Linked DNA regions of Homo sapiens: all the other regions are linked to region 1. The links are contacts of gene promoters, found by promoter capture Hi-C in human tissues and cell types (Jung and others, 2019). All regions are on one chromosome and are shown on one strand. The core of a region is centred on a gene start or on the middle of the fragment in contact, and the rest is flanking DNA. Distances in the headings are between cores, read along the strand shown.

Region 1 (4,321 bases), core at 951-3,450:
TACCATTTCTTGAAGACCTACTGTGAGCCAGGGACAGTGTTAGGGGCTTTCTACATATTATCTTATTTAATACAAGCAATCATCTTGAAGGCAGGAATTGATATCTTCAACAATGAGTAATTAACTACCAGAGAGGTAAAGGGAGTTTGTCCAAGGTCACCCATATAAATGCAAGAGTCAAAATTAAAATCCACGTCTGCCTGAATGCCAAAGCTCAAGTACTCTCCAACACTAATAAGGTGAGAGTAATCCATTCACTGAAAAAAATATTTGAGTGCCTCAGGCCGGGCGCGGTGGCTCACACCTGTAATCCCAGCACTTTAGGAGGCCGAGGCAGGTGGATCACGAGGTCAGGAGATCGAGACCATCCTGACTAATACAGTGAAACCCCGTCTCTACTAAAAATACAAAAAAATTAGCCGAGCATGGTGGCGGGAGCCTGTAGTCCCAGCTACTCGGGAGGCTGAGGCAGAAGAATGGCGTGAACACAGGAGGCTGAGCTTGCAGTGAGCTGAGATCGTGCCACTGCACTGCAGCCTGGGCGACAGAGCAAGACTCTGCTTCAATAAATAAATAAATACATAAAAATAAAAAAACTGAGTGCCTCTTTTGTTCCAGACATTGTTCTGAGTGCTAGTGATATAAAAGTGAAAAAACAAAGTCCTTGTCTCATGGGGCTCATGCTGTAGTGGAGAAAGACAATAAAAATGTAGTATGTCAGATGGTGATAAATGCTGTGAAGGAAAATTAGGATGGGGTGCGTAGGATTACTATTTTAACCAGAATGGTCAGGGAAGACTCTGATCATGTGAAGTCTGAGCAGACGTACAAGACTTGGAAGAAACAGAACTGGCACAAAGAAGAACTTCCTCCTTTGCCTACCTATGGGTTCAGTTTGGAAAAGAGGGGGCGGGATGGGAGTGCAGGTGTTAATGGAAACTATATGCTCAAAATCAGAAGACCTGAGCATTACTTTACTCCAGGTGATTTACTGGCAAATCTTTTCACCTTTGAGCCTCAATTCCCTTCACTGTAGACGGGAATAACAGTTCTTGCCCAGCTTCTCACACACAGCTGCCATGAGGATCAGATGAGATGACCCACTTGAAAGCCCTTTAAAAATAACACAATCAGGGCCAGGCGCAGTGGCTCACGCCAGTAATCCCAGTACTTAGGGAGGCTGAGGCAGGTGGGTCGCTTGAGGTCAGGAGTTGGAGACCAGCCTGGCCAACATGGTGAAACCCCGTCTCTACTACTAAAAATACAAAAATTAGCCAAGCGTGGTGGTGCGTGCCTGTAATCCCAGCTACTCGGTAGGCTGAGGTGGGAGAATCGCTTGGACCAGGGAGACGGAGGTTGCAGTGAGCCGAGATGGCGCCACTGCACTCCAGTTTGGGCGGCAGAGTGAGATTCTGTCTCAAAAAAAAAAAAAAAAAAAAGACCGGAAGTCAACTCTTCAAATAAAATGTATTCCTATCTCAGGTGCAGTAGTTACCCTAAACATCTTTTTGAAAGGCCGCCCAGGCTGAAAAAAGAGATAGGCTAAACTAAATAAGCATAAGTTTCATAATATGCCTCTGCTGAAGATTCTTGGGTAATTTACACCAGTCAAAAATTGTGGGCCGGGCGCGGTGGCTCACGCTTGTAACCCCAGCATTTTGGGAGGCCGAGGCGGGCGGATCGCCTGAGGTCAGGAGTTAGAGACCAGCCTGGCCAACGTGGTGAAACCCCGTTTCCACTAAAAATACAAAAATTAGCTGGGCATGGTGGCGGGCGCCTGTAATCCCAGCTACTCGGGAGACTGAGGTAGGAGAATTGCTTGAACACAGGAGACGAAGGTTGCAGTGAGCCGAGATCGCGCCACGGCACTCCGGCCTGTGAGACAGAGCGAGACTCCGTCTCAAAAAAAAAAAAAAAAAAAAAGTGTGTCGTGTGCTTCAACTAAACTAGGAAAGAAGTCTTGGGATTCTAATCTTTAACTCTAATCGCCACGCCCCTTCACCCGAACTCTATTTCCCAATATGCCCCGGGCTTCTATAATCCCGCAGTCATTGTGACGCAATCCCACAGCCTTCTGGGAAACGTAGTTTATTTATTCTCCAGCTGGGGAAAGGCTTAGGGCTGTGGACTACCTCTCCCGTGAGGTAGTGCGCAACTCCACCCTGTTCGCGGCGTCTTCGAACGCGCCGCGGCAGCCATGTTGGACGTGGTCAGCACAGGGGCCGGCACCACGGGGTTATCGAAGCAGCTGTCAAGATGCTGGGGTCCCTGGTGTTGAGGAGAAAAGCACTGGCGCCACGGCTACTCCTCCGGCTGCTCAGGTCCCCAACGCTCCGGGGCCATGGAGGTGCTTCCGGCCGGAATGTGACTACTGGGAGTCTCGGGGAGCCGCAGTGGCTGAGGGTAGCCACCGGGGGGCGCCCTGGAACATCGCCGGCCTTGTTCTCCGGACGTGGGGCAGCCACCGGGGGGCGCCAGGGAGGACGCTTCGATACCAAATGCCTCGCGGCTGCCACTTGGGGACGCCTTCCTGGTCCCGAAGAAACACTCCCAGGACAGGACAGCTGGAACGGGGTCCCCAGCAGGGCCGGACTGGGCATGTGCGCCCTGGCCGCAGCGCTGGTGGTTCATTGCTACAGCAAGAGTCCGTCCAACAAGGGTGATTATGAGATCTGGGTTTGAGGAAGGGAGAGGCGGGAAGATTGTCCTAACTTCGTATCTTAGGAGGGTGGGAGGTACTTATAGGTTTAGATCCTTAGAGCCTAAGTCTTGGAGGGACTCAGACATCATCTGGTTACAGGGGCAGGGTGTTGCCCTAGAGACCTCATCACCTCGGAGTTGTATAATCTCGTACCATAGATCCGCTTCCCCTCTCTGGGCATCATTTTATCCATCTGTACAATGGGGATATTGGACTAAACATCTAATATTATAGCATGGTCCCCTTATGTTTCTCATATTCTGCCTGGTCCAATTCCTCTTTCCTGAGATCTCCAGGAAACGGAAATTATGGGGTGTTTTAAGGGCAACCGCCAGATGGTTTAGAGAAGTTGCCAAACCGCTCCCCCCTACCCCCCGCCACCAAAGGTGCCAGAGTCAGGAACAACCTGACTCGGTTCTAATGCCAGCTTGACCTCAATTTATTTATTTATTTATTTATTTATTTATTTATTTATTTATTTATTTATTTCTGAGATGGAGTCTTGCTCTGTCGCCAAGCTGGAGTGCAGTGGCGCAATCTCGGCCCACTGCAACCTCCGCCTCCCGGGTTCAAGCTATTCTCCTGCCTTAGCCTCCCAAGTAGCTGGGACTACAGGTGCGGGCCACCACACCCAGCTAATTTTTGTATTTTTAGTTGTTGGTCAGGATGGTCTCGATCTCTTGACCTCCTGATCCACCCGCCTTGGCCTCCCAAAGTACTGGGATTACAGGCGTGAGCCACCGCGTCTGACCAATTTCTTTATTTATATAGTGAAGGATAGTTTCCCAACATTTTTACAGTACTGTTATTTTGACTCTTTTTGGAGTTCAGCGGCCTGAGTCTGTCAGTCTCAGGATTTTGCTGTGTCTGGTCTCACATGCTGTGAGGTGATCTTGCCATGTGGGATAGTTGGCAGGAGAAGGAAGGTGGATTCCTGGAGGCCCAAGGGCAACTGCTGGGGGACTGGCTGATCCCGATTAGCATCTCATTTGGATCCGGGGAGCTAAGCAGCAGCTGAGAGAGTGGACAGAGAGCCAGACTGATGACCTATGTGAGTCCAGCCATTCAGGTTCTTAGTTGTTCCTCAAGAAGAAAGACTGAGGCATGGTGTCCATAGATTCCATGCACCCCAAGCTCTGAGAATTTGGAGCAAGAGTTGGGGAGTAGGGAGTGCCTTGACTTTGATTCGTTTGATGTGGCCAATTGTAAAGGAAGGACTTTGGTCTGGGAGAGACAACACTGGGGATCTTGTTTTGGTTCTGTGTCTAACTCTCATTGTGAATTTGGACTTTTGCTTCTCCTCACGGGTCCTCTGTTTCCTCATCTACAAAATGAGGGTTTTGAAATAGACACTAAGGGCATCGAGCTTAGGCATGTTGTAATCCTATAACTTCCAGCATTTTTGGGGGTACCCACTGTGTGTCTAGTTTTAGGCTAGGTGTGTGGGAAGTCCTAACTTAACACAAAATCAGTCAAGGGGACAGTGCAGGCAGTTGGAATGTAGGGCTGGTGAGTGGTGCTATGTGTCGTTGGGGGATCAGAGGGCCAGTAGGGTCAGGAAAGCCTTTCTGGAGTATTGGAGACCCCAGAGGATGGGAAATTTGAACTTGAGTTCTGAAG
Region 2 (4,321 bases), core at 782-3,281, 380 kb after region 1:
CTGGTCTCGAACTCCTGGCCTCAAGCGATCCACCTGCCTTGACCTGCCAAAGTGCTGGGATTACAAACGTGAGCCACCGTGCCCAGCCACTCTTACATTCTTATCTTGCTTTTTGGCACACATGTTCATTTATTTGTTCACTCAAGCTAGGAAATTTAGAGGTGCTTCAAGAATTTTCCTTTTCTCATTCTTCATTTATACAGTTGTCCCTCAGCATCTGTGGGGATTGGTTCCAGGACTTCACACAGATACCAAAATCCTTGGATGCTCAAGTCTCTATATAAAATGGTATAATATTAGCATATAACCTTCACACGTCCTTCGTATAGTTTAAATCATCCTTGGATTACTTATATAATGCAATGTAAATACTATGTAAATAGTTGTTACATTGTATTGTTTAGAATAATGACAAGAAAAAAAAGTTTATACATCTTCAGTACAGATGCTTTTTTTTCCCTAAAATGTTTTTCATCTCAGGTTGGTTGAATCCACACATGTGGAACCCATGGATACAGAGGGCCTACTGTAATTGGTTGTCAGGGCCTGTCATAAATAGTTCTCAAAGCTATTGTTGCATCTTTATTGTCATTGCCTTACTTCAGACATACATTACTTCTTGCTTGTAACAGACAATGGTTTTTGCACTGCATTCTGTAAAGCTTTACAGAACTATAGAACTGACTTAAGAACCAGGGGGAAGCAGAGGGAACAAGTCTCCAAATATCCCTTACTTCAAACTGTCTTCTTCTGTGTGTCCTGGGGTTCTATATAAAGGTTACATTTAAATAGAGTTCATTTAAAATATATAGTTTGGAACCTTTCATTCATTCAAGAAGTATTTATCAAGCACTCATGCTGTGCCAGCCATTGTGCTGATTTCTAAGAATTCAGCGGTGAGCACACAGTTTGTGATTTCATGGAACTTAAGGCAGTAAGAGAAAGATAAATTAATAAAATACAAAAAGGCGTAATTAGGAACTATGGGCTGGGCACAGTGGCTCATACCTGTTATCCCAGTGCTCTGGGAGGACAAGGTGGGAGCTTCACTTTAGTTGAGGAGTTCGAGACCAGCTTGGACAACATAGCAAGATCCTGTCTCTACAAAAATTAAAAATAAAATAGCCAGGTGTGGTGGCTTGTGCCTGATAAAGTACTATTATTATTCCCATTTTACAGCTGGGGAAAATGAGGGCACAGAGAGAGTAAATAACTTGCCCAAGGTTGCAGAGCTATTAAGCTATAAACCCAGAATTTGTATTAGGTTGTCTTAAGTTCAGACCTTGTAATCTTAGCCATTATGCTCTATTGCCTTCCTCCTGTGTCTTACCATTCCAGTCTGTACTTTATACAGTTTCCCTTCTGAAACATAGCCCTGATCATGCTGCTCCCCTTTACCCTCTTCCTTTAGAAACCTTGATTGTCTTCTCATCACCTACAATTTCTTAGTATGAGGCAAGTGCCTCACAATTTAATATTACTTACCCTTGTTTTTTTTTTTGAGATGGAGTCTTGCTCTGACTGGAGCACACCAGACTGGAGTGCAGTGGCATGATCTCGGCTCACTGCAACCTCCACCTCCTGGGTTCAAATGATTCTCCTGCCTCAGCCTCCTGAGTAGCTGGGATTACAGGCATGTGACCACACCCAGCTAATTTTTGTGTTTTTAGTAGAGACGGGGTTTCACCATGTTGGCCAGGATGGTCTCAATCTCCTGACCTCATGATCCACCTGCCTTGGCCTCCCAAAGTGCTGGGATTACAGGCGTGAGCCACCGCCCCTGGCCTTACTTATTACCCTTCTTATCATCTGATGCACCTCCCTAAAACTGCATGCCATTGTTCAACTGTAATATGGTCTGTCTTTGCATGTGCTGTTTTCTCTGCCTAGAATGCTTTTTTACTTTTTGGTGAAACTCTACTTATCCTGCTCATATTTTAATATCTAGCTTAAATGTCACTTCCTCTATAAAGCATTCCCCATCATCCCATCCTGAGTTAGTCCCTCACGCTCCTTTAAACCAGTACCTACTCTTATTTTCTCGTTCTGAAATCTTTCCATGAAAGCAAGAATCTTAGTGTTCTCTTTAGCTCCCCACCTTTCCCACGCCCCTATATGCTAAGAGCATTGTCTCTACGTCTGTAATGCCTTTCAGAGCCACCTGTTTTAGTTCCTACTGCCCCTGCCCTGGCAGTGCAGTTTTCTCTCTACCTCTGTCGCTGCCACCTAAGTCCATTTTCTGCCTCTGGCCTCACTGTTGTGCTAGAGTCATCTTTTCAAAAAGCACAAGTAGTATACCATTCTCCTGCCCAGGACTTTTCAGTGCCTCCCACTTCTCTTCAGTAAGTCACCCTGGGTTGTTGGTCCCCACTAGCCTTGCTTGTGTTATCTTACCTTCCTTTCAGCACACCCCAAGCCCATGTTCTTTGGCTTCATATTATGGTTACAGATGTGTCTCTTCCTCTACAAGATTATAAACTCAAGTTTAAAGATTTACCCTTGGGCCAGGCACAGTGGCTCACACTTGTAATCCCAGCACTTTGGGAGGCCAAGGTGGGCTGATCGCTTGAGCTCAAGAGTTTGAGACCAGCTTGGGCAAATGGCAAAACTCCATCTCTACAAAAAGTACAAAACTAGCTGGGCATGGTCCTGCACACCGGTAGCCCCAGCTACTTGGGAGGCTGAGGTAGGGAGGATCACTTGAGCCTGGGAGGTGGAGGTTGCAGTGAGCTGAGATTGCACCACTGCACTCCAGCCTGGGCAGCAGAGTGAGACCTTGTCTCAAAAAAAAAAAAAAAAATCTTTGAATTCCTAGCACAGTATGTAGGATGTTTATATCATGTTTATAGTCGAATATCCCTGATTAAATTTCATTAATTCTAAGTAAAGAGTAACATATCTTATGTATTTTGGAGAATATGTTTTGATATAAAGAAAGAGCTTTGCCTTAAAAGGGATAAATTTCAGTTAGTAGGAAAATTGCTTGTGTGAAATTTTGTACTTCTCAGTGATGCCAGATACGTAGGATTTATTTTCTCTGATGGTGATCACGTTATTTATTAGCATCTTTAAAAGTGTGGATAGGACAGCACGGTGGCTCACACCGTTTAATTCCAACACTTTGGGAGGTCAATGCAGGCAGATCGCTTGAGCCCAGGTGTTTGAGACCAGCCTAGGCAACATAGCGAGACTTCATCGCTACTAAAAATTAAAAATAGCCAGGCGTGGTGGCGCGTGCCTGTTGTAGCAGCAGCTACTTGTAAGGCTGAGGCGGGAGGATCACTTGAGCCCAGAAGTTTGAGGTTGCAGCGAGCTATGATTATGCCACTGCACTCCAGCCTGGGTGACAGAGCAAGACCCTGTCTCAAAAAAAAAAAAAAAAAAAAGGTGGGTATAGATCTGGTGCCATTTAGACATCTGCATTGTCCTTTTCATGAGCTGTGGCAGAAGCAGTGTGAACAATGAATGCAGAAATGCTTTGTATACATGAAGACCTATACTGATGAGAAAGATAGAGGATGTAGCTGAGATGTGCTGGAGAGAGCACTGGATTTAGAAGACATCTCTTTGAGTTCTGGCTCTGCAGCCTTACCAGTCGACCTTGAGGCAGGTATTTTCTTTTTACTGAGCCTTACGTTCCTAATTTATAAAATTGGAATAAACCTTGCCTCTTAGGGTTCTTTTGGGAAGATTAATTGAGATGTGAGACACAGCCTTCCTTAAAAATCCTGAAGTTTGTTCAAATCCCTAGCACAGTATGTATTTTAGGGTTTTATTTTATCATGCCCATGTTAGACACCATTCCCACTTATTTCACTTATTAGTAACATATTGACAAGTTGGTTCTTGAGGCTATCTGTCTTCCTGTTTAGAACTCATATTCATGTTTGTTCATTTCTATCAGTGATTAAAGGCATTCTGGTGTGGAAAAAGGAAAAGTGGACCTGGAACCAGAAAGACGGGTCTCAGTGCTGTGTAGGACAGGGATGATAAAGTAGAGAGGTGGGGAGGAGAAGGGGTGAAGACCTAGGTATAGAAAGCTACTTTTCTTTAGTCTGTTTAGACAGATGTAGTTATAAATTGCATTTTGTGGCTTTTATTTATGAAAAGCTGCCTTGTAGTTCCTCGAGTGTGGCTCCAATCACCTTTCATTGTATGCCATGCTAAGTTGGTACTACCAGTTTCCAAGGACCTCCTCCTTTCAACAGAGTATTAATGAAGCACCCACATGTGCCTCGCTTTGGGGATGGGTCCTAATAGGGTAACACACAATGTGCCTGTTTCTAGGAGATTTGCTATTTTTTTTGAAAGAACACCCTAA
Region 3 (4,321 bases), core at 98-2,597, 340 kb after region 1:
GTAACCTACTTTTATTTATGTTTTAAGACATACAGGGCATCACACTGAAAAGGAGCTGTGATCTGAGGGTCAGGAGTGTGGGCCTGGGTACCAGCACTGCCACTGACTTGCCTCTCTCAGCCTTAGTTGCCCCTTCACTGAAGACCTTTCCAGCTTTGGTGATCTACGATTCTATCACAGCAAGCAACAGGAAGACAGAGCATCATGCTAGGCACATAAGAAGCTTTTAAAATACTGGTTAAATTGAGATCACCACACCAGGGGAATAGTGTCCAAGTCATGCTCCAGCTCCTTTCCCCTCTTAGGGATCTTGGACTAGAAAAGGCCAAACTTTATTTCTTAAAACTTGAATCTGAGTTCACAGAAAGTAAGTGCTGTACTTTATTGACTACCTCTTCCACAGGAGAACCCAGCACAGGTCACAGTGGGTGCGCAGTGACAGTTAGAATTTTACTTCAGCCTCTGATGTACCAGTTGTTTGTTGGTTTTCATGTATTTTCTTTTCTTTTTTTTTTTTTTTGAGACGGAGTCTCACTCTGTTGCCAGGCTGGAGTACAGTGGCGCAATCTCGGCTCACTGCAACCTCTGCCTCCTGGGTTCAAGTGATTCTCCTGCCTCAGCCTCCCGAGTAGCTGGGACTACAGGCGCCCGCCACCACGCCCAGCTAATTTTTTGTATTTTTAGTAGAGGCGGGGTTTCACCATGTTGGCCAGGATGGTCTTGATCTCTCTTGACCTTGTGATCCACCCACCTCGGCCTCCCAAAGTGCTGGGATTACAGGCGTGAGCCGCTGTGCCCGGTGGTTTTCATGTATTTTCATTCAATCCTCACAAAACCTTTATGATACTGGCATATTATCCCCATTTTTCCGACAGGGAGGCTGCAGTTTTGAGAGGTTAGGTAGCTTGCTCAAAGTCACAGTCAGTAAGAGGCAAACCCAGGATTTGAACCTACATCTATCTGTCTGGCCCCCTAGCCTTGTGCTTTGGACTGTACCATGCTGCCTCATTACTTCCTTGATAACATGTAGGAGTGGAGAGGTTGGGGGCTGAACAAAGTGGCTTCAGGCTCCCCTGACTGGATTCCTACTGTTAGGAACTCACAGGGTCAATGGAAGTCAGGTCATTAAAGGACAGGTCGATCCAGGCCAGGTTCTCTGGGTGCTCCAACAGCTGTGAAGCCACCTGGTTGAAGTCTCTCAGATCATTGAGAACATTGTTATTCAGCCACAGGGACTGGGTCAGTGATTTCCCCGACTTTGAACGCTTCAGTGGTCGTAGTCCTGTCCTTGGCTCCTCATTTACCAGATCTGTGGGGACAAAGTGAGACTTGGGTATCATCTTTGCTTTTTTGGCTTTAGGGGGTGGGAAGGGACAGAGCTGGAAAGATTAGCCATCCAGGCTGTAGCTGGAGGGTCTGGAAGGGCCATAGCCCTGTGCCTGAGTCTAGTGCAACCCTGTCCCACAGCTTCCAGCAATCAGTAAGTTTAGACTAAGGGCCAGAGACTTCTATCTCAAGCTCTTGGCTTTCCAGGTCACATGGACTTCTCATGTCCACTGTACCACTGGGTCTTTTTTATACCAAACCAGTGTGGGGTTGAGGAAAACTAAGAACCAGAATTGTTGGGCTTGAGCTGAGTAGATGATAGCACAAAATCCTGAATTAACTACTGGTAAAGCCTATAGAATTCACTTCAGTGGAATACACTTTGATATCCTGTCTCTCTTTCCATGAATGTTGAGTACCTACAGTATGCCAGGTACTGGATATACAGTGATAAACAAAATGAGAGACAGTCTGTTCCAGACTTTGTATGAATAATAGGGCAGAGAGCAGACATTTGTGCCTTGGAGGAGCTTATATGGGCAAGATGGGAGCAAGCTGGCAACATGGTGTGATAAGTGCTATATAATAGTTGTAGCAGCACAGAAGAGAGGCTATTGACCCAGTATGGGAGCTCAGGGAAGTTTCCCAGGGAAGGTGAAGCCTGAGCTGAATCTCCATGGATTAGGGGATGTTTATCAGGCAAAGAAGGGTAAACAGGCAGGGAACAGCATGAAGAAAGGTATAGAGGTACAGAACAGCCAGGGAGTCTGGGGCGGGTTTGTGTGCCTGCACAAGTGCTTGCACGCACTGCACAAGGGGGACAGAGAGGAAAAGGAGGCAGGAATCCAGTCAAAAGTCTCAAATGTCAGGCTAAGGATCTTGGGCTTTACCCTGTGTGTAATGGGAAGGCACTGGAGTGTTTAAAGCAAATGATTCAAATCTTTTATTTCAGAAAGATCACTCTTAAGTGTCAGTGTGGAATATGGATTTTAGGGAGTGAGTTGGACCAAATGACCAATTTGGCTGTTTGAGTCATCCAAGCAAGACATGAGAGGGCCCTACAATCAACATAATTTGGTTGACTGGATGTAAAGGTAGAAGAATATTAAAGGGTGGTTGCCAGTTGTATTAACTGGTAAGGAATTACAGAAGAAGAAATAGCATTGGGAATGTGATGAGTTCAGGCTTAGCTTTGGTGTATTTGAGGTTCCTGTACAAAAAGGTGGAGAAGTCAAGTAGGCAGTTGGAGATGAAGGTCGGAAGCTCAGGAGACACAGACTTGAGAATCATTAGCATAGAAGGCATACAAGTTAGGGAAAGAGATGAGATTCCTCAGGGAGAGTGAGGGTAGGGAGGAAGGTCAGGGAGGAAGAAGAATCCATTAGAGAAGTTAAATGATCAGGGAAAATCAGGAGAGGACAGTTTAAAGATGTTCAGGGAGTAAATAGTTTATAGTAGTAAGTTCCAGGGAGGTAAGGACTGAAAAGTAATTTTGGCAACTTAGAAGTCCCTGGTAACCTTGGTAAGGGCTGCTTCAGTGGAATGGCAAGGGCCTGGAGGCAGAAGCCAGATTGAAGTGAGTGAGTTCAAGAGTGAATGGAGGCTGGTTTCATGCCTGTAATCCCAGCACTTTGGGAGGCCAAGACAGGAGGATTGCTTGAGCCTAGGCGTTTGAGACCAGCCTGGGCAACATCATGAAACCCCGTCTCTACCAAAAAAAGAGTGAATGGATATAAGCAGTTAGCATAAACAACATCCTCAGAAAGTTTGGCTGAGGAGGAGAGAGAATAGGGAATAGGATTATGTTAGAACCCCGGTGTATGGAACACCCCAAAGCCTCACTCCCACTTTTTCAAAATGAGGTCCAGTTCCCATTGCTGCTAAGCCTTTGGTTCCCTAGTTCACCCCTGGGGAAGGAAGTATTTAGTATTTGCGGAAGCTAGCCAGCTTTCTTCACTCTCTTCTGCTCTCTACTGGAAGGACACCCTTTGCCCTTCCACCCCCACCTCTCCTCCTCCTCAGATGCAGGTCAGGCAACATCCACCAGATGGCTCTCTGCCTTAATCCTAGAGTGAGCAGGACCCACAATTGGGGCCTGGGGTTGCAGGAGGGTACTGGAACGGCGTACCCCAGCTCATGAATTCCTAATCCTGCTTCCCTCCCCATACCTCCTTAGAACCCTGAAACAGAATGACACAGATGAATCAAAATTAAGGTCAAAATAACCCCACATGAACTAGTGCCCCATGTGATAAGGTAGCAGCTTGGGGAATGCCACCAAGCATGGGGTGGAGGCCAAGCTCAGAGGGAATCACTGGTGGGACAGAGTTGCCTAAAACTTGATGCTGGCTGGAGCTGCTCTTACCAAGGATGGAGTGGTATATCCAGGCTGCCACAGGTTGCTGCTCCTCTCAGATTCCACCAATGCACTACACTGCCTAAGAATCTGTAAAGTTCCTTGTTCAGAGTAGGCCAAAGCAGGTCTGGAAGCTGGACCACAAATATCAATGCTTTGGGAACTGGGGAGCATTTAGCTCCAGGAAGATCTGGGAAACTATGTTCCTGTTTTCCTCTCTCTGAAAGGCTGCCATGTAGCTCTTGCCATGTGTCAGAATACAAGTTAGTTTGATTGAACTTCCCTGTGTCATCCCTCAACCACCAACTGGAAGGTGTTGGTAGGTGTATATGGTGGGGGACTTCCTTAACACTCTAGGTTTGTGAAAAGTTAGAGGAACTGGGTTGATGGTAGCACAGATTAGATGCCTTCCAAAGGCACTGCCGTTTCAGATTCTGTAATATTTATTCATTCACCAAATAGTGTGCCAGGTACCCCCAAACTCTATTGTATCCCTTAACCCCAGCTGTAAATAAGTGTTTCAGAAGCTCTGGGGAATCTGAAGGGACTCTGACCTTTTGGGCCTTTGATGTGCCTCACATACCTAGCAAGGAGCACAATACCTGGCATATACATATGACGCACACACACACACACATA
Region 4 (4,321 bases), core at 893-3,392, 280 kb after region 1:
TGACTGTGCCACTGCACTCCAGCCTGAGCAACAGAAAGAGACCCTGTCTCAAAAAATAAAAATAATAAATAGAAATAAATGAAGGGCGAAAAGGCATCAATTGGCCTTGTTTACAAGACTAGCCAGGGCGGTCATCAGTGGATTGCTCCACTTTTCAGGTTGATGTAGTTATTTGCATATGTATAGAGAGTTGGTCCTCCTTCTTACTAGGATCTAACCAAAAAATTAAATTTGTAACTATGACCATGCCAGAAACAGAAATCTACGAGAAAATAATGAAGTCTTTTTACTCATGATTAGGTCTGTTGCAAACCTTGTGATTCCCCTCTCCTTGCAAGTACATGATAGGATTATGTTTTCCTGGCTTTCTTGAATTTAGGCATGCTCATGACTTGATTTGGCCAATGAAATAAGTGATGGGTGGAAATTTGAAGAGCCTTATGGAATTTGCCAAGTTCCCTCTTCCTGTCTCATGGAAGATGGAGCCTCCATCAGCGTGGGTTCTTGAGTGAGAAGCAGAACCCCCTGGCTGCTAATGTAGTCCAGGAATGAGAAATAAACAGAATCCCCCTGATAACCCACATTCAGCATTGTAGCTTGAGCAAGAAATAAACATGACTTGTGGCCAGATGCAGTGACTCATGCCTGTAATCCCAGCATTTTGGGAGGATCACTCCAGCGCAGGAGTTTGAGAACAACCTGGGTAAAATAGTGAGACCCTGTCTCTACTATTACATATATAATACATGTTTTATATTATATGTATTAGCTGAATGTGGAGGCTCACACCTGTAGACCCAGCTACTCAGGAGGCTGAGGTAGGAGGATTGCTTGAGCCCAGTAGTTTGAGACCAGCCTGGACAACATTGCAAGATTTCCTCTCTACAAAAAATTGAAAAATTAGCCAGGTGTGGTGGCACATGCTTGTAGTCCCAAGTATTTGGGATGCTGAGGTGGGAGGATCACTTGAGCCCACGAGGCAGACGTTGCAGTGAGCTGAGATCATGCCACTCCATTCCAACCTGGGTGAGAGAGTGAGACCCTGTCTCAAAAAAAGAAAAATGCCTGGGCTTGGCTCTAAATTGGAGCTATAGTGAATAATAAAATCGAGAGCTACAAATGTCTCCTACCTTAGAAGAATACTTAAGTATCAGGCTAGTTCATAGCAAGCATCAGAGCTGGGAACTAGCCCAGTCTAACTGGCTTCAATCAATAAGAAATGGGAAACAAAACAGCCACATTCCCATTCATACCCAAATAATTCTCAAGATACATGTGTGGTGTCTGGTTTATTCAAAGTGGCTGTCAGAGACAAGACCATAGAAGAGGAACCAAATAGTTGGGAGCTGTGGGGCTAAACAGGGCAGGGATGTCCAAGTATCAGAAGGTAAAAGGAGGTCAGCTGAGCAGCCACAGCAGCATTAGGGCCAGGTTGAGCAGGAGAGGCCAGGCTGCCCAGGGCCCAGCCCCACTCAGAGCTGCAGCATAGAACCTTGCCACCTCCTCATTGGGGTTGCCCTGGGCCAGGTCGAACCACATCTGGATGCAGCGGCTGCTCCCTCGGTTGTAGTTGCTGACCCTGTAGGAGTGAGTCCAGATTTCACTGCACAGAGCAGTGGGTGTGAGAAAGTAGAGATGGAAAGGTAGTCAGGCAGCTGCCACCTGGCACTTGTTAGACCCTGTAGGGAAGAGGGAAGACCTTTAGCCACTGGGCCCCAAAGGGTCTCTGATTCTGCCAGCCCTACAACCCCAAAATGTCACACACCTGTTCCACACCCACACACCTTCACTTCCAAATCCCTCCTTTCCTGCCCACCCCAGCCCTCACCTGAGGTCCAGTTCCAGCCCTTGTGCCCATTGCTCTTGCAGGTGTAGGAGGTGCGACAATCTTCCCACCATTGCTCACAGTCCTCTTTGCACAGGGGCACATTCAGCACCCACTCTTTGCGCCAGCTCTGATCCACCTGGGAGATTTTGGTAGAAAAGAAGGGCTCAGGCTCAAGAATCCCAGGAACCCAGCCCTGAATAGAACTGGAGCTGGGGTTGCTGCCTGCAGAGACGCCTGGAAAATTCAGCTCCTCTGCTAGCTCTTGGATGCCAGGAAGCCATGCGTACCTGCTGGATCCAGGGCCCCAAGTTGGGGGGTCACTCGTAAAGGCAGGTGTCCTGGATAAAGTGCCGTTTGCAGGCAGGTACCATCTCTCCACAGTGGTTCCAGTTGAATCCATATAGATGGGAATATTCTTATGGGCTTCCTGGGTGGTGCTGGTAAAGCTCAGGCATTCTTTCTCCAGAGACTACACTGGATGCGGGAAGACACAGGACTAAGTCCACAGCCAGCACAGCCAGAATATTCCACACCCAGCCTCTCCCCTTTCAATCCTTAATCCCCAACCCAGTGGAAGTCATCCAGGAAAGTCCTTGCTGTTGGTAAACTCTTTGTGGGAGAGGGCTGTCAGAGACTGTGGAAGCCCGGAAGACAGCTCCTGTCTGGAGGTGCAGTCATTACAAAATTCGTTAATTCAGCTTTTATAGAGATCCTACATACTCTTACCCAGGCACTTTTCTAGTAACTGGGGTTACAAAAATGAGCACCTCAATGGATCACTGCTTTTGAAAACAATCAGGGGAGAAGGATGTCTCATACATTTTAGGGAAGCATGAGACATCAATCAAATGCATTTAAGGAATACATTGGCCAGGCACGGTGGCTCACGCCTGTAATCCCAGCACTTTGGGAGGCCAAGGCAGGCTGATCTTGAGGTCAGGAGTTTGAGACCAGCCTGGCCAACATAGTGAAACCCTGTCTCTACTAAAAATACAAAAAATTAGCTGGACGTGGTGACAGGCACCTGTAATCCTAGCTACTCAGGAGGCTGAGGTAGGAGAATTGCTTCAACCCAGGAGGCGGAGGTTGCAGCGAGCCGAGATCACACCACTGCACTCCAGCACGGGCGGCAGAGGGAGACTCCATCTAAAAAAAAAAAAAAAAATCATTGGTTTGGTCCAGGAAGGTGGGACAATTCAAAGTGGGGTGGCAGGGCTTTCAGGCTATACGTAAATTTAAACATTTTATGGTTGACAATTGGTTGAGTTTGTCTAAAGACCTGGGGTTGATAGAAAAGAAATGTTAAGATAAAAGACTGTGGAGACCAAGGTTCTTTTGAAGTCTTATAGTGGCTGCCCTTAGAAACAACAGATGACAAGTGTTTCCTATTCAGATCTATAAAAGGTGCTACACTTAGTTAATCTCTTTATGATTGGAAGGGCCTGGTAGAAAAAGATCCAGCTATGTTAATAGAGATTCTTTACAGATGAAAATTTTCCCCCACAAAGGACAGTAGCAGGGCCATTTCAAGATATGGCAAAGAAACATGTTTTGAGGTAAAAATATTAAAATATTTTGCTTTTCTTCCTTGTCTCGTCATGTTATGCCAGAGTCAGGTTGGAAAGTAAGTCATGATATATAGGGTTAAATAAAACCCATCTGATGAGAATTTATGATTTGTAGGGCATGACTCCCCAGACCCCTTAGATAGGAATTTTGGCAAGATAAAAAAAAATCATTGGATTTAGTCCTCGTTGAGGTGATAACCATTCGGAGGTGAGAAAGTAAGTTAAATTGTAACCCCAGAAGAGTTCCGATTACATAAACACTCAATACATACTTATTGAATGAATGAAAGCCCACGGCCTAGAATTTGGTATAAAGCTTGAGAAAAGAAAAATAGCTCAGAGCAGTCTCATGATGTGAGACATGCCCAATTTATCAGGCCCAGAAAGGCATGAGTATGGAACTTCAGTCACACCCTCCCCACCCATGCCCAGAGACAATTGTTCCAAGGCGTTTTGTCCCTGACTAGCTGCCTCACCCGTTATCTGTTCCTGGAATTTGTGATACAAAAAACAATGTATAGCCAATGAATTGCTTATGTTATTTTATTTTAAATTCTTGATAAACAACTTAGGAACTATTCTGTTTCCTTAAAAACTCACTTGTAACTGCTGTGAATCGAAGTGTATATTCAGGACAACTTGAATCTATGCTTCTGTGTAGCTATCCTCAAGCTTTCTGGATCTCGTTACTTAAGGCTGACAAGCTAAACATTAAAATGTGCACTTAAAAAATATATAAAAGCCCAGGCACAGTGGTTTACACCTATAATCCCAGTACTTTGGAGGCCAAGGTGGGAGGATCACTTGAGTGCAGGAGTTTGAGGTCAACTGGGACAACATAGTGAGACCTCATGTCTAAAAAGAGATAAAAATAAAAAAAAATAAAAATATAAAAAATAAAAGAATAAGTTAAAGTCAGAGCTGC
Region 5 (4,321 bases), core at 639-3,138, 260 kb after region 1:
AGGAATGGGCAAACCCCTCACCACGTGCCTCCTGTTACGATGCATGGAATAACTGTGTAGGGTATTCGTGCCCAAAATGTGTAACCTCAGTGAATCATGAGGAAACAAACCCAAATGGAGCAGTATTCTACCAAATAACTGGCCTGTGGCTTTCAGCAATGTCAAGATCATAAAAGAACCCCATTCCTTCCAATGCCCATCAGTATGTGACTGAATTCAGTGTGATGTACACATAGAATGGATTATTACCTAGTAATTTAACATCTCAATAGGTCAACATGGAAAGATCTCAGAACAATGGCAGATGAAAACTGGACTGAGCTGCCCTTTTCCCCACCTGTAAGATGAGCAGAAAACCAAAGTTTGATGGCATACTGTGTTGACAAGGTTGTGGAGAAACAGGCACTCTCTCTCTCTGTTTTTTTTTTTTTTTTTTTGAGACAAGGTCTCGCTCTGTCGCACAGGCTGGAGTGCAGTGGCACAATCACAGCTCATTGTAGCCTCAACCTCTCAGGGCTCAAGTGATTCTCTCACCTCAGCTTCCCTGGTAGTTGGGACTATAGGCACACACCACCATGCCCAGCTGATTTTTTTAGTTTTTTGTAGAGATGGGGTTTCACCATGTTGCCCAGGCTGATCTTGAGCTCCTGGGGTCGAGAGATTCTCCTGCCTCAGAATCTCAAAGTGCTGGATCACAGGTGTGAGCTCTCACACACCCAGCGGAGAAACAGGCACTCTCATGCTTTGCTGGTGGAGGAGCCACATTGATAAAATCTCTATAAAGTTGTAACTATCAAAATTATACATACTCTTGACCCAATAACCCTTTCTGGAATTCAGTATAACATTCCACTAGGTACAAGATTTTTTGTTTGTTTGTTTTGTGACGGAGTTTCACTCTTGTAGCCCAGGCCGGAGTGCAGTGGTATGATCCCAGCTCACTGCAACCTCTGCCTCCTGTGTTCAAGCGATTCTCCTGCCTCAGCCTCCTGAGTAGCTGGGATTACAGGCATGTGCCATCACACCTGGCTAATTTTTGTATATTTTAGTAGAGATGGGGTTTCACCATGTTGGCTAGGCTGGTCTGACATTCCTGACCTCAGGTGATCCACCCACCTTGGCCTCCCAAAGTGCTGGGATTGCAGTCGTGAGCCACTGAGCTCAAGGTGCTCAGTGTTACAATCTTGTAACAGCTGGTACAAGACTGTTAATTGCAGCATTACTTGTCATTTATTAAAAAGTAGGTCAGGCCAGGCTCGGTGGCTCATGCCTGTAATCCCAGCACTTTTGGAGGCCAAGGTGGGTGGATCACCTGAGGTCAGGAGTTCGAGACCAGCCTGGCCAACATGGTGAAACCCCATCTCTACTAAAAATACAAAATTTAGCCAGGCGTGGTGGTGTGTGCCTGTAATCCCAGCTACCCAGGAGGCTGAGGCAGGAGAATCGCTGGAACATGGGAGGCAGAGGCTGCAGTGAGCCGAGATCACACCACTGCACTCCAGCCTGGGTGACAGAGCAAGACTCCGTCTCAAAAAAAAAAAAAAAAAAAAAAAAAGTAGGTCAGGCACAATGACCTACTGCAATAATCCCAGCACATTGGGAGGCCAAGGAATGAAGATCGCTGGGGCCCAGGAGTTCAAGACTAGCCTGGGCAACATAGCAAGACCCCAGTCTCAAACAAATAAAAACAAGGCAGGTGTTTATCATTGAGACCCTCCTCTCCAAACAGTATCTCCTCCCAGCCCACATCTAGTGAGGGAAGAGGAAATAAACTGTCTTCCCCACCTGAAGCCCAATAACTCATCTCCTGTTTCTGCCCATCTTCCTTCCACCTGCGCTTTTGTCCGTGTATAGTGTGGGGGTAATGAGCTTTGTGTGAGCGGGAGGGTCTCAGGAGAACCAGGCTGAGGGATAGATAGATACCTAGATTCTGGCTCAACCTCCACAGCCTACTTCCCAGTGAATGTCAAGCCAGTTCCAGCCTGATTCGGGGACTATCAATAGGAAAGATGAAGCAATGTGTCACTCCAACCCACTTGTCCCCAGATTACAAGACACAAGACACATGTGGATTTGTCTATTAGGATAGGTTGTCGGAAGAACCCCAGGGGACCCTTCTTGGATCAGGAACCAATGTCCACGGCCCCAGTCCCATGGGACGGGGCCCCAGCATTCATGGCCGCAGCATAGAACTTGGCCACCTCCTCACTGGGGTTGCCCTGGGCTGAGTCAAACCACATCTAGATGCAGCGGCCACTCCCTCAGCTGTAGTTGTAGTTGCTGACCTTGAAGGAATGGCTCCAGAGGCCTTCACAAAGGGCAGCTGGAGTGGGGAAGTAGGGCTCAAAGGTGTGGCAGAGGGCCCAGGCCGGACACTCATTAATCCCTGAGGGAGGAGAATGTAAGACCCTTAGCTTCTGGGCCAGACCACACCCCTCCCAACCCCAAAGCCCCACTCCCACTCCTCACCTCATCTCCTCCGTCCCTCACCTGAGGTCCAATTCCAGCCTTTGTGCCAGTTGCTTTTGCAGGTGTAGGAGGTGCGACAGTCCTCCCACCAGCGCTCACAGTCCTCTTTGCACAGGGGCACGTTCAGAATGCGCTCTTTGCGCCAGCTCTGGTTGACCTGAGTGGGGAGGAGACGGAACACTCCTGTCAGCCACGTATCTCAGCCGCTTTACCCTTGAAGGAGACCAGAGCTGTGGGAGGGGGCAGGGCGTCCACCACCCTCAGACCCAAATTCCTGGACCAAGCCCTCTCTGCAAGTGGCTGGCAGGTTGTGCCCTCTGCTGAGATTAATGTTTTGTGTTGTTTTTGTTGTTGTTGTTTTATTTTTGAGACAAAGTCTCGCACTGTTGCTCAGGCTGGAGTGCAGTGGCACAATCTCGGTTCACTACAACCTCCACCTCCCAGGTTCAAGCGATTCTCCTGCCTCAGCCTCCTGAGTAGCTGGGATTACAGGCTCCCACCGCCATGCCCGGCTAATTTTTGTATTCTAGTAGAGACAGGGTTTCATCATGTTGGCCAGGCTGGTCTCGAACTCCTGACCTCAGGTAATCCACCTGCCTTGGCCTCCCAAAGTGCTGGGATTACAGGCATAAGCCAATGCACCCAGCTATGAGGTTCATGTTTGTGGGAATGGCACTCATACCTGCCAGATCCAGGGCCCGAGGTTGGGTGAGCACTCATAGAGACCGGTGTCCTGGATAAAGTGGCGCTTGCAGGCAGGCTCCATCTTACCACAGTGATCCCAGTTAAAGTTGTACAGGCGGGAGGTGTCCTTGTGCAGCTCCTGGCTGGTGTTGGTCATGCAGCAGGCATTCTTCTTCTAGGGACTGCACTGGGTGGGGAAGACACAGGACTAAGTCCCTCACCACCGCAGCCATCTCCCCCATATTCTGGCTCCTCTGCCCCAGGTAGGTCATCCAGAGGAACACTTCCTAGGGAGGGCCCTTGAGGAGTCCCCACCTGGGAACACAGGCAATTACAATATTGGTGCATTTTTCCCTTATTTATTTATTTATTTGAGACAGGTCTCTCTCTGTTGCACATGCTGGAGTGCTGTGGTGCAATTATAGCTCACTGTAGCCTCTACATCCTGTGCTCAAGCAATCCTCCCACCTCAGCCTTCTGAGTAGCTGGGATTCAGGCCCATGCCACCACACCTGGCTATTTTTAAAATCTTTTTGTAGAGACAAATGGGATCTAATTAAACTAAAGAGCGTCTGCACAGCAAAAGAAACTACCATCAGAGTGAACAGGCAACCTACAGAATGGGAGAAAATTTTTGCAATCTACCCATCTGACAAAGGGCTAATATCCAGAATCTACAAAGAACTTAAACAAATTTACAAGAAAAAAATCAAACAACCCCATCAAAAAGTGGGCAAAGGAAATGAACAGACACTTCTCAAAAGAAGACATTTATGCAGCCAACAGACACATGAAAAAATGCTCATCATCACTGGCCGTCAGAGAAATACAAATCAAAACCTCAATGAGATACCATCTCACACCAGTCAGAATGGCAATCATTAAAAAGTCAGCAAAAAACAGGTGCTGGAGAGGATGTGGAGAAATAGGAACACTTTTACACTGTTGGTGGGACTATAAACTAGTTCAACCATTGTGGAAGACAGTGGGGCGATTCCTCAAGGATCCAGAACTAGAAACACCATTTGACCCAGCCATCTCATTACTGGGTATATACTCAAAGGATTATAAATCATGCTGCTATAAAGGCATATGCACATGTATGTTTATTGCGGCGCTATTCACAATAGCAAAGACTTGGAACCAACCCAAATGTCCATCAGTGATA

The links. The method cuts DNA at HindIII sites, captures the fragments that hold promoters and counts their contacts. A contact is called where the count stands out against the background at its distance.
Region 2: a contact is called between a fragment that was not itself captured here and the fragment with the promoter of CLPB in region 1, in 1 of the 25 tissues and cell types used here (IMR-90 fibroblasts).
Region 3: a fragment that was not itself captured here is called in contact with the fragment with the promoter of CLPB in region 1 in 1 of the 25 tissues and cell types used here (lymphoblastoid cells).
Region 4: a fragment that was not itself captured here is called in contact with the fragment with the promoter of CLPB in region 1 in 2 of the 25 tissues and cell types used here (dorsolateral prefrontal cortex and lymphoblastoid cells).
Region 5: a fragment that was not itself captured here is called in contact with the fragment with the promoter of CLPB in region 1 in 2 of the 25 tissues and cell types used here (adrenal gland and mesenchymal stem cells).

What each region holds. Positions count from the first base shown.
Region 1 is chr11:72,432,410-72,436,730 of GRCh38, reverse strand. CLPB (ClpB family mitochondrial disaggregase) reads left to right here and starts at 2,200. Exons shown (of 16, transcript NM_001258392.3): 1 at 2,200-2,659. The coding sequence starts at 2,257. RefSeq lists enhancers at 1,249-2,055, 2,119-2,578. The HindIII fragment of the contact is 14,936 bases long and covers 1-4,321 here.
Region 2 is chr11:72,049,951-72,054,271 of GRCh38, reverse strand. All of the region lies in intron 2 of NUMA1 (nuclear mitotic apparatus protein 1), which reads left to right. Among named protein-coding and RNA genes, the nearest start is that of MIR3165, 20 kb to the left of the region's middle. The HindIII fragment of the contact is 4,976 bases long and covers 1-4,321 here.
Region 3 is chr11:72,090,484-72,094,804 of GRCh38, reverse strand. LRTOMT (leucine rich transmembrane and O-methyltransferase domain containing) reads right to left here. Exons shown (of 9, transcript NM_001145310.4): 4 at 1,104-1,309. It overlaps LRRC51 (leucine rich repeat containing 51), which reads right to left. Exons shown (of 6, transcript NM_145309.6): 4 at 1,104-1,309. Among named protein-coding and RNA genes, the nearest start is that of LAMTOR1, 11 kb to the left of the region's middle. RefSeq lists an enhancer at 3,447-3,606. The HindIII fragment of the contact is 6,356 bases long and covers 1-4,321 here.
Region 4 is chr11:72,156,817-72,161,137 of GRCh38, reverse strand. It overlaps the pseudogene FOLR1P1. Among named protein-coding and RNA genes, the nearest start is that of FOLR3, 23 kb to the right of the region's middle. The HindIII fragment of the contact is 5,430 bases long and covers 1-4,321 here.
Region 5 is chr11:72,175,786-72,180,106 of GRCh38, reverse strand. All of the region lies in intron 2 of FOLR1-AS1 (FOLR1 antisense RNA 1), which reads left to right. It also overlaps the pseudogene FOLR3P1. Among named protein-coding and RNA genes, the nearest start is that of FOLR1, 14 kb to the left of the region's middle. The HindIII fragment of the contact is 8,900 bases long and covers 1-4,321 here.